2 separate regions of the Homo sapiens genome follow, and region 1 is linked to region 2. The links are contacts of gene promoters, found by promoter capture Hi-C in blood cells and fetal thymus (Javierre and others, 2016). All regions are on one chromosome and are shown on one strand. Each heading gives the region's core, a stretch centred on a gene start or on the middle of the fragment in contact. The rest is flanking DNA. Distances are from core to core; before and after follow the strand shown. Region 1 has its middle 36 kb from the start of ZNF267. Region 2 holds the start of RUSF1 (RUS family member 1).

Evidence for each region. The method cuts DNA at HindIII sites, captures the fragments that hold promoters and counts their contacts. A CHiCAGO score of 5 or more calls a contact.
Region 1: a contact is called between a fragment that was not itself captured here and the fragment with the promoter of RUSF1 in region 2, in 1 of 17 cell types (M0 macrophages). The highest score is 5.0, in M0 macrophages.

The regions. Positions count from the first base shown.
Region 1 is chr16:31,835,305-31,840,971 of GRCh38, forward strand. No RefSeq gene overlaps it. Among named protein-coding and RNA genes, the nearest start is that of ZNF267, 36 kb to the right of the region's middle. The HindIII fragment of the contact is 2,976 bases long and covers 2,590-5,565 here.
Region 2 is chr16:31,505,722-31,510,843 of GRCh38, forward strand. It overlaps RUSF1 (RUS family member 1), which reads right to left and starts at 2,670. Exons shown (of 13, transcript NM_022744.4): 1 at 2,353-2,670; 2 at 2,043-2,157. The coding sequence starts at 2,652. It overlaps RUSF1-DT (RUSF1 divergent transcript), which reads left to right and starts at 2,743. Exons shown (of 2, transcript NR_186401.1): 1 at 2,743-3,315; 2 at 3,452-3,845. RefSeq lists enhancers at 1,656-2,371, 2,372-3,086, 2,651-3,220 and silencers at 2,381-2,440, 2,501-2,550. The HindIII fragment of the contact is 29,640 bases long and covers 1-5,122 here.

The DNA.
Region 1 (5,667 bases), core at 2,828-5,327, 330 kb after region 2:
TCAGAATACAAAATCAATATACAAAAATCAGCAGCATTTCTATACACCAATAACGATCAAGCTGATAATCAAATCAAGAAGGCAATCCCATTTCCAATAGGTACAAAAAATAATAAAATACTAGGAACATACATAACTGAGGAGGTGAAAGATCTCTAGAAGGAAAACTACAAAACACTGATGACAGCAATTGTAGCTGACATAAACAAATGGAAAAAATCCCATGCTTGTGAATTAGAAAAATTTATAGAGGCAAAATGACCAAACTGCCCAAAGCGACCTACAGACTCAATGCAATTCCTATCAAACTACCAATGTCATTTTTCACAGAATTAGAAGAAACAATACTAAAACTCATATGAAACCAAAAAGAGTCAAAGTAATCAAAGCAATCCTAAGCAAAAAGAACAAAGCTGGGCACATCACATTGCCTGACTTCAAATTATACCATAAGGCTAAGGTAACCAAAACAGCATGGTACTGGTATGAAAATAAACACACAGATCAATGGAACAGAATAGAGAGCTCAGAAATAAAACCACATGTTATAACCAACTGATCTTTGACAAAGTTGGCAAGAAAATACACTGAGGAAAGGACACCCTATTCAATAAATGGTGCTGGGAAAATAGATTGCCATATACACAAAAATGAAACTGGACCCCTACTTATCTATCTATCTATCAATCACTATATGCAAAAATCAACTCAAGATGGATTAAAGACTTAATGTAAGAATTAAAACTATTCACTCAGTGCTCAATGGCGCCCAGGCTGGAGTGCAGTGGTGTGATCTCAGCTCGCTACAACCTCCACCTCCCAGCCGCCTGCCTTGGCCTCCCAAAGTGCCGAGATTGCAGCCTCTGCCCGGCCGCCACCCCGTCTGGGAAGTGAGGAGCGTCTCTGCCTGGCTGCCCATCGTCTGGGATGTGAGGAGCCCCTCTGCCTGGCTGCCCAGTCTGGAAAGTGAGGAGCGTCTCTGCCCGGCCGCCATCCCATCTGGGAAGTGAGGAGCGCCTCTTCCCGGCCGCCATCCCATCTAGGAAGTGAGGAGCGTCTCTGCCCGGCCGCCCATCGTCTGGGATGTGGGGAGCGCCTCTGCCCCGCCGCCCCATCTGGGATGTGAGGAGCGCCTCTGCCCGGCCGCCACCCTGTCTGGGAGGTGAGGAGCGTCTCTGCCCGGCCGCCCCGTCTGAGAAGTGAGGAGACCCTCCGCCCGGCAGCCGCCCCGTATGAGAAGTGAGGAGCCTCTCCGCCCGGCAGCCACCCCACCTGGGAAGTGAGGAGCATCTCCGCCCGGCAGCCACCCCGTCTGGGAGGGAGGTGGGGGGGTCAGCCCCCCACCCGGCCAGCCGCCCCGTCTGGGAGGGAGGTGGGGGGGTCAGCCCCCCGCCCGGCCAGCTGCCCCATCCGGGAGGTGAGGGGCGCCTCTGCCCGGCCGCCCCTACTGGGAAGTGAGGAGCCCCTCTGCCCGGCCAGCCACCCCGTCCGGCCAGCCACCCCGTCCGGGAGGTGAGGGGCGCCTCTGCCCGGCCGCCCCTGCTGGGAGGTGAGGAGCCCCTCTGCCCGGCCACCACCCCGTCTGGGAGGTGTGCCCAACAGCTCATTGAGAGCGGGCCAGGATGACAATGGCGGCTTTGTGGAATGGAGGGGAGGGGGGGGGGGAAGGTGGGGAAAAGATTGAGGAATCGGATGGTTGCCGTGTCTGTGTAGAGGGAGGTGGACATGGGAGACTTTTCATTTTGTTCTGTACTAAGAAAAATTCTTCTGCCTTGGGATCCTGTTGATCTGTGACCTTACCCCCGACCCTGTGCTCTATGAAACATGTGCTGTGTCCACTCAGAGTTAAAAGGATTAAGGGCGGTGCAAGATGTGCTTTGTTAAACAGATGCTTGAAGGCAGCATGCTCATTAAGAGTCATCACCACTCCCTAATCTCAAGTACCCAGGGACACAAACGCTGCGGAAGGCTGCAGGGTCCTCTGCCTAGGAAAACCAGAGACCTTTGTTCACTTGTTTATCTGCTGACCTTCCCTCCACTATTGTCCTTTGACCCTGCCAAATCCCCCTCTGTGAGAAACACCCAAGAATGATCAATAAAAAAAAAATAAAAAACAAAGAATTAAAACTATAAAAATACTAGAAGAAAAACTGGGGAAAATTCTTCCAGACATTGATCTAAGCAAAGAATTCATGACTAACAGCTCAAAAGCACAGGCAAGGCTGGGTGTGGTGGCTCACAACTGTAATCCCAGCACTTTGGGAGGCTGAGGTGGGTGGATCACCTGAGGTCAGGAGTTCAAGACTAGCCTGGCCAACATGGCGAAACCCAGTCTCTACTAAAAATACAAAAATTAGCTGGGCATGGTGGCACTTGCCTGTAATCCCAGCTACGTGGGAGGGAATTGCTTGAACCTGGGAGGTGGAGGTTCCAGTGAGCCAAGATCATGCAGCTGCACTCCAGCCTCGGCGACAGAGTGAAACTCTGTCAAACAAACAAACAAACAAACAAACAAACAAAAAAAACCACACACAAAAAACCATAAGTAACAAAAAGAAAAACACACAAACTGAACTTAATTAAACTAAAAGCTTCTGCACTGCAAAATTATCAACAGAGTGAAGAGACAACTTGAATAATGGGAGGAAATACTTATGTTTCAGGGGACTAATATCCAGAATTTACAAGGAACTCAAACAATCCAACAAAAAAATAATAAATAGTCCTGTTTAAAAGTGGAAAAAGGCTGGGCATGGTGGCTCATGCCTGTAATCCTAGCACTTTGGGAGCCTGGGGCGGGTGGATCACCTGAGGTCAGGAGTTTGAGACCAGCCTGAACAACATGGAGAAACCCCGTCTCTATGAAAAATGCAAAAATTAGCCAGGCGTAGTGGCGCATGCCTATAATCCCAGCTACTCAGGAGGCTGAGGCAGGAGAATCGCCTGAATCTGGGAGGTGGTTGCAGTGAGCCAAGATTATGCCAATGTACTCCAGGCTGGGCAACAAGAGCAAAACTCTATCTCGGGGAAAAAAAAAAAGTGGAAAAAGGACATGAATAGACATTTTTCAAAAGAAGATATTCAGATGGCCAGCAGACATATGAAAAAATGCTTAACATTACTGATCATCAGAGAAATGCGAGTTAAAACCACAATGAGAAATCATCTTACACTAGCCAGAATAGCTATCATTAAAAAGACAAGCCGGGCATGGTGACTCAACGCCTGTAATCTCAGCACTTTCGGGGGCTGACGCAGGCAGATCACGAGGTCCGGAGATCGAGACCATCCTGGCTAACACGGTGAAACCCCGTCTCTAATAAAAATAAAAAAAATTAGCCAGGCATGGTGGCACGCACCTGTAGTCCCAACTACTCAGGAGGCTGAGGCAGAAGAATTGCTTGAACCTGGAAGGTGGAGGTTGCAGTGAGCTGAGATTGTGCCACTGCACTCCAGCCTGGGTGACAGAGTGAGACTCCATCTCAAAAAAAACAAAAAAAAAAAGACAAAAAATAACAGCTGTTGGTGAGGATATAGAGAAAAAAGAACCCTTACACACCGTTAGTGGGAATGTAAATTAGTACAACCTCTGTGGAAAACAGTATGGAGATTTCTCAAAGAACTAAAAATAGAACTACAATTCAATCCAGCAATCCCACTACCTCGTATCTACGTAAAAGAAAATAAATTGTTATATCAAAAAGATACCTGCCCTTATATGTTTATTGCAGCACTATTCACAATAGCAAAGATATGGAATCAACCTAAGTGGCCATCAATAGATGACTGGATAAAGAAAATGTCACACATACACACACCATGGAATACTACTCGTGGAAGACAAAAAATTAATAAAGAAATGGGAAACTTGAATAACACTATACACCAAATAAACTTAACAGACATATACAAAACTTTTCACCCAACAGCAGAAGAATATATATTCTTCTTAAGCATACATGCCACATTCTGCAGCACAGTCTGGCAAGAGACACCTCCACCAGGTGGGACAGGGAAGTGAACACTGGACCCTCCCTTGGACCCCAGCACCAGCCCTTTACCCGACCCCAGTGAAACCCAGCACCAAGAAGGCCCCCATGACCCCAAAGTCCAGGCTGGCATCAGCAGACTGAGCTGCCAGGTCCACCAAGGCACTGGGTTGGATTCTGCATCCTCAAGCTCCAGGCCTTCCTGGAAGGCTTGGTCTCCAGGCCAGCCCCACCACCAGGCCAGCCCCAGTGGCCATGGGCCTCAGGCCTGCCCTAGCACAGGCCAACCTCTACAAACCCAGGCTCTCTGCCTCTCCTCACATTCTCAGGCTCCAGGCTAGCCTCACAGACTGTCTCTGGGCCTTCCCCAGTATCAGGCCAGCCCCAATTGACCCAGACTTTGAGCCACTCCCAGCACTAGGCTTCAATCTGCCCCAGCACCAGGCTGGCTCCACAGCCCTACATCATCAGGCCAGTACCCATGGACCAGCCTCCCGGACTACTCCAGGGTCCAGCCAAGCCCAGAGCCAGGTTCACCCCTTCAGCCCCAGGCTTCAGCCTGCCCCAGCCCTAAGTTGGCACCCTGTCATCACGCACCAACCTGGCATCCATGGACACAGGCTCCAGGACTGCCTCCATGGCCCCATGACCCAGGCCACCCCTCGAAGACCTAGCCTCCAGGCCAGCACTGCATACCCAGCTTCCAGACTATCCCCTATGGACCAGGCTCCAGGCCAGTATCCACAATCCCAGGCTCCAGACACACCCCTGCAAACCCAGGCTCTATGCCTGCCCCAGCACCAGGCTAGCCTTAGGCTTCAGTCTAGTCCCACGAACTTCAGACTCCAGTGAACCCAGGATCCATGCTCACCCAAGTGAACTCCAGTTCCAGGTCAGTCACTGCAACCTGAGGCTCCAGGACTACCCCTGCAGACACAGGCTCCGGCTATCCCTGGTAGACCCAGGCCCCAGGACCCTGCAGACCTAGGGCCACCCCAGCACTAGACCAGCTCCTTTGTATTCAGGCTCCAGTCCTATCCCAGTTAATCCAGTTTCCAGATGGCTTCACTGAAGAATTCTACCAACATTTTAAAAACTAAACCTTCTCAAACTCTTCAAATAAATTAAAGAAGAAGGAATACTTTCAAATTCGTTTTATGAGGCTAGCATTACCCTGATGCCAAAGCCAGACAAGGATACTACAAGAAAAGAAAATTACAGGCCAATATCTCTGATGAACATAAATGCAAAAATCCTCAGCAAAATACTAGCAAACAAAATTCAACAGCACATTAAAAAGATTATTCACCATGATCACATGGAATTTGTCACAGAGATGCAAGGATGATTCAACACACACAAATCTATAAATGTAATACACACTACAGTAACAGAATGAAGGACAAAAACCATATGATCATCTCCATAGATGCATAAAAAGCATTTAACAAGGTTTAACATCCTTTATGATAAAAGCTCTCAACAAATTAGGTATAGAAGCAATGTACCTCAACACAATAAAAGTCATATATGACAAACCCATAGCTAATATCATACTTAATGGTGAAAAGTTAAAAGCTTTCCTTCTAGAAGCAGGAATGAAGAAAGAATGCTTACTCTTGCCACTTCCATTCAACATAGCACTGGAAGTTCTGGCCGGAGCAGTTAAGCAAGAGAA
Region 2 (5,122 bases), core at 1,420-3,919:
AGATAGAAACCACAGTTAATGAGGCAAATGACTCTGGAGGAAACATTTTAAAAAGCCATCCAGCAGAACACTTCCTCATCCCTAGAGGACCCGCTTCCTGTCCTTCAACTGCTTCTAATGTTTCTTCTCACCTTAAAAAAATAAAATATGGTGTCCAGTAACCTTTTCACCAAAACAGCTGAAGACTGACAGCCTGCCGTTTTTGTTGCTGCTGCTATGGTTCAGAAGCTGATACAGGTGTTCTGGTGATCTGCTGTGCTGCTTAGTTACCCTGAACACACAATTTCTCACTGTATTAGTGGTATATCATGTTTTATACTGTTAAGTACTTCTGTGTGAATAGGTATAAGAAAATGACTGCTTCTTGGTAGCATATACATTCAGAGTCAGGAACGATGGGGACGCTAACCAACCAGATTGTCCACGTGTGGCTGAGACAGTGACATCTTTGCTTTCTGATGGATCAATGAACACAAACTTTGTTTCATGCACACCATTGAAAATACTGTATAAAACTGCCTTTAAGGTATGTGTATAAAGTATATATGAAACATAAACGAATTTCATGTTTAGACTTGAGTCTGATCCCCAACAAATCTCATTATATACATGAAGATATTCCAAAATCCAAAAAAAATTCCAAAATCCAAAACACTTCTGGTTGCAAGCATTTTGGATAAGGGATATTCAATCTGTATAGGCAACATGTTGGTGACATCACATGAAAACAAAAACTACTGACCCAAGCTCCAAATGCATTCCAAAAATACGGCCAACAAGCCGGGCGCAGTGGCTCACGCCTATAATCCCAGCACTTTGGGAAGCTGAGGCGAATGGATCACCCGAAGTCAGGAGTTCGAGACCAGCCTGGCCAACATGGTGAAACTCTGTCTCTACTAAAAATACAAAAAATTAGCGGGGCAGGGTGGCACATGCCTGTAATCCCAGCTACTTGGGAAGCTGAGGCAGGAGAATCGCTTGAACCCGGGAGGAGGAGGCTGCAGTGAGCTGAGATTGTGCCACTGCACTCCTGCATCCCAGCCTGGGTGACAGTGAGACTACGAGTCTGGAAAAAAAAAAATAGAGATGGGGGTCTCCCTATGTTGCCCAGGATGCCTCAGCCTCCCAAAGTACGAGGATTAAAGGCGTGAGCCACCGTGCCCGGCCCAGTTTTCTCAGTCTTAATGGTAAAGGTGTAAACAGGAAGCTCCTGTTTTCTCAAAAAAATCCAGAGAGGCTCACAAGGGATGTGGCCAGACTGATGCTACGAATGGAAAGCGCTTTTCCTTAGATCTATTAGGTTGGCTCAAATGTAATTGCGGGTTTTCCATTACCTTTAATGGCAATAACGACAAAGAAACCCCGCAATTACTTTTGCACCAGCCTAATAAATATCCCCTGCGAGCAGTAGTGAAAGACAAAGGACAGTGGCAAAAGCCATGGGGCCTCCTCGTGTAGAACATGTAACAATTTCCCTTTTCTGTTCTATTTCCCTCTCTGGGTGGCATGGTACCAAACTGTATTTTTTTTCCTTAAACAATTTTTTAAAAGCTGTACATATTCAGCAGATAGTCACTCTATTATTTACAGCATCATCTGGTATCCCAGAGCATACACAATACCTTCCATTCTTTCCAGGCTCTCCTCTCTCCTTCTCAGGACCAACTATATCTTTTTTTTCTGGAGCTCACCAATTTCCCCTATCCTGGGCAGCTGGCAGTTTTATTCCATCAATTGCATTCTTATGCAATCTTCCACAAAGAGAATAGGGATAAAGGGGAGGGGACGGGATTTGGGATCCAGATGATTGAGACTCAGAAGTCTGTGTGGGGAATGGAGTGCGGCTGCTAGGCTGGTGAGTGGGATGAGGGTCTTCCAGATGTGGGAAGTAAGACTGGGTTACAAAGCACCACTCTAATCACTGGGGAGACCTGCCTGAATTCTACCTAATGGGGCACGAGTCCATACATATATACACATAAGAGCCCAGCGAAAGCAGGGCTGAAAGCAGCAATACGTGAGGCTCCAGGGGTGCAGCTCACCTTTCACGAGCCAGGTGGCCGTGGCAGCTGAAACAGTGGCTTTTGCGTTCCCCACCCCTATGCCCAGCAAGACTGCCTGGGTGGCTAGGGAGCCGGAGAGGCTGGAAGCAAACGCCTGGAGAAGAAAACAAGTAGGGTGAGAAGCGGGCGTAGGAGCGTGGCGGTCTAAGTGCCTTCATCTGTTCTTGTTCTTGGTGTATGAGGCATGTCAGACCCCCCGCCCCCCGGGCTCCGAGTCTCAGTCACCCGTCCATTATTGGGGAGGGAGGAGTGGCCTGCACTGTCCTCTGCCCCAGACGACCGAGCTGACCTGCACGGAATCCCACAGCTGGTAGGGCAAGTAGTCCGGGCTGACGCTATCAGGGAAGCCCTGAGGCAGGAACACGGCCTGGAGCCCGGAGAGGGGCGGTGAGGGGGCCCCGGAAGCCCCCACTTCGCCCGCATCTCGTCCTTCAGGTTTGACCGTGAAGGCCCTGGAGAGCCCCCACCAGCGCCAGCCCCCGACCTCCCACTGCAGGCTCCCGTCCGCGGCGGCGCGGCAGCCCCGTGCCTCCCCGGAGCCGAACTGCTCGGAACACAGCGGGGTCTCCAAACCCGCGTCGTCAGCCATGCCGAGCTTTTGGATCCCAGCCCCGCCCCTGCCGCACGGTGGACGTGGCAGGCGGCACTTCCGGCTGGGCTACCGCGGCTGCAGAGGGACATCTTTCAAGAACAGGCGCCGGCCTCGGCGTCCGCCGCGCAGTTAGGAAACTGACTGTCGCTCTCTCCGGCCTCGGCGCTGCTTCGGACGCCCCGGCACCGGCCCCCGTTGCTTTGTAGCATTCTGCAGCTGGGCTGCAGGCGCCGTGGGCCTCCGCCAGTTGTGTTCGAGACGCGGTTCGGCCACAGAAGTTTTAGCTTGTGACTTTTGGCAAGTCAGTGGCCCTCTCTGGGCCTCAGGTGCCTTTTTTGCTGTGAGACCAGCGACTGTATTTTTAACCCTGATTTTATCCCTAGATCTACCCAACACATAGTAGGTGCTCAAAAGATATTTATGAGTGAATGAATGCATCATGAGAAGAAATTGGACCAGATGAGGCCCTGTGAAGCTGCTTGGGTCTTTTTTTGTTCTTTTTTTTTTCTCTCTTCTGAGTGTCCCTGGCCTGGACTAGAAATTCTCCATCCTTCGGCCTTCTGCGAGACTGCAGGAACATTACTTTTGAAGGATGCTAAGGAATCCGAGGGATGAAAAAAATCAAGAGATTGCAATGATGTCACAAAACAAGGAAACAAGGCAGGAAGTTCTTGTGTGTTTTTTTGCGGGAGAGAGTCCATGAAATTGGGGGGAGTCCAAAGAGGGAGTGTTTCTGTCCTTGGAACTCACCTTTTCTTCTTTCCATTTCTCCTCTTCTCCTTCCCATCTAGTGCAGCATCTTCACTCCGAAGCAGAAATTTGCCAAAAAAGCATCCTCTTTTTATCAGAAAATAAAATATCCTGGTTTCTTAGCCTGGCATTCTTGGATCCCCACAGTTTGATCCCAACCGACAACTCCTTATTTGAAACTTCAGATTCTCCCAAACCGTCACCTTCCTCGTGGACTTAATCCTGGAAGGCCCTTCTACCCCACTTCGCCTTATCTCACACAAACACAGTCTCTCTCTGACTGAGATAAACTTGAACACTTCTTTTCTTTTCTTTTTTTTTTTCTTTAAATTTCGGGTTTCAAAATACAAATGGCCTAATCACAACATTTCTGTAATGTTGTCTAAATTCAGGTACTGGTTTGAATAGAGGACAAAAATAAAACAAGGTTTGAAGACTAAGTACTTTAAAAACATATTTATTTAAATAGAGGCAGGGCCTCCCTATGTTGCCCAGGCTGCTCTCAAACTCCTGGCCTCAAAAGTGATCCTTGGGCTGGGCGTGGTGGCTCACGCCTGTAATTCCAGCACTTTGGGAAGTCGAGCCAGGTGGATCACTTGAGGTCAGGAGTTTAAGACCAGCCTGGCCAACATGTTGAAACCCCATCTCTACTAAAAATACAAAAATTAGCTGGGCGTGGGGGTGGTGTGGCCATAATCCCAGCTATCCGGGAGGCGGAGGCAAGAAAATCGCTTGAACCGTGCAGTTGTCATTAACTCCGTGTTTGTTATCTCTTTTTTACCAATGGTTTGCCAGTTTCTTCTACAAATACCTGTTGCTACCTATGTGCTCATTGGGATAGTGAGCAAAAACAAACAAGGGTCTTGGTCTTTTGGAACTTATATTAGGGAAGGATATTGATCAAATCATACAAATAAATGCAAAGTTGGAACTATTTCAATTGCTGTAGAGGGGTACATGTTATTTAATATGAGGACTTTTAGAAGGAGAATTGAGCTAATCAGTGGAATCAAGGGAAACTTTTTTTTTTGAGATGGAGTCTCCCTCTGTCACCCAGGCTGGAGTGCAGTGGCACAGTCTTGGCTTACTGCAACCTCCACCTCCTGGGTTCAAGTGATTCACCTGCCTCACCCTCCGGAGTAGCTGGGGTTACAAGCATTCACCACCACACCCAGCTAATTTTTGTATTTTTAGTAGAGACGGGGTTTTGCCATGTTGGCCAGGCTGGTCTTGAACTCCTGGCCTCAACTCATCTGCTTGCCTCGCCTCCCAAAGTGCTGGGATTACAGGCATGAGCCACTGTGCCCGGCCAAGGGAAATTTTTTAACAAAAATTTAAGTTGGGGTCTCTCTGTGTTGCCCAGGCCTCCCGCCTCGGTCTTCCAAAATGCTAGGATTATAGGCATGAGCCGTTGAGGCCAGCTGGGAAACTTTTTTTTTGAGGAAGTGTGTATTTAGCTGAGATCTAGAGTAAGAGTTAACTTGATTATGATGGGAAAATAATTTTCTGGAAAGAAGGAGCAGCATGTCCTGAGTGGGGAGGGAGCATGGTACCTAACATCCAACAAAGGCCGGTGCAGCAGAAGTCTAGAGCACGAGGGGCATGGGGAAAGGGCTGCTAGGGAGTTAGGGGCCAAACTGCAGGACATTGTAGGCCAAGCTCTTCTTCATCCTTAGGGTTAAGATTTATTTTTTATTCTATCAGTCAATCAATCAAT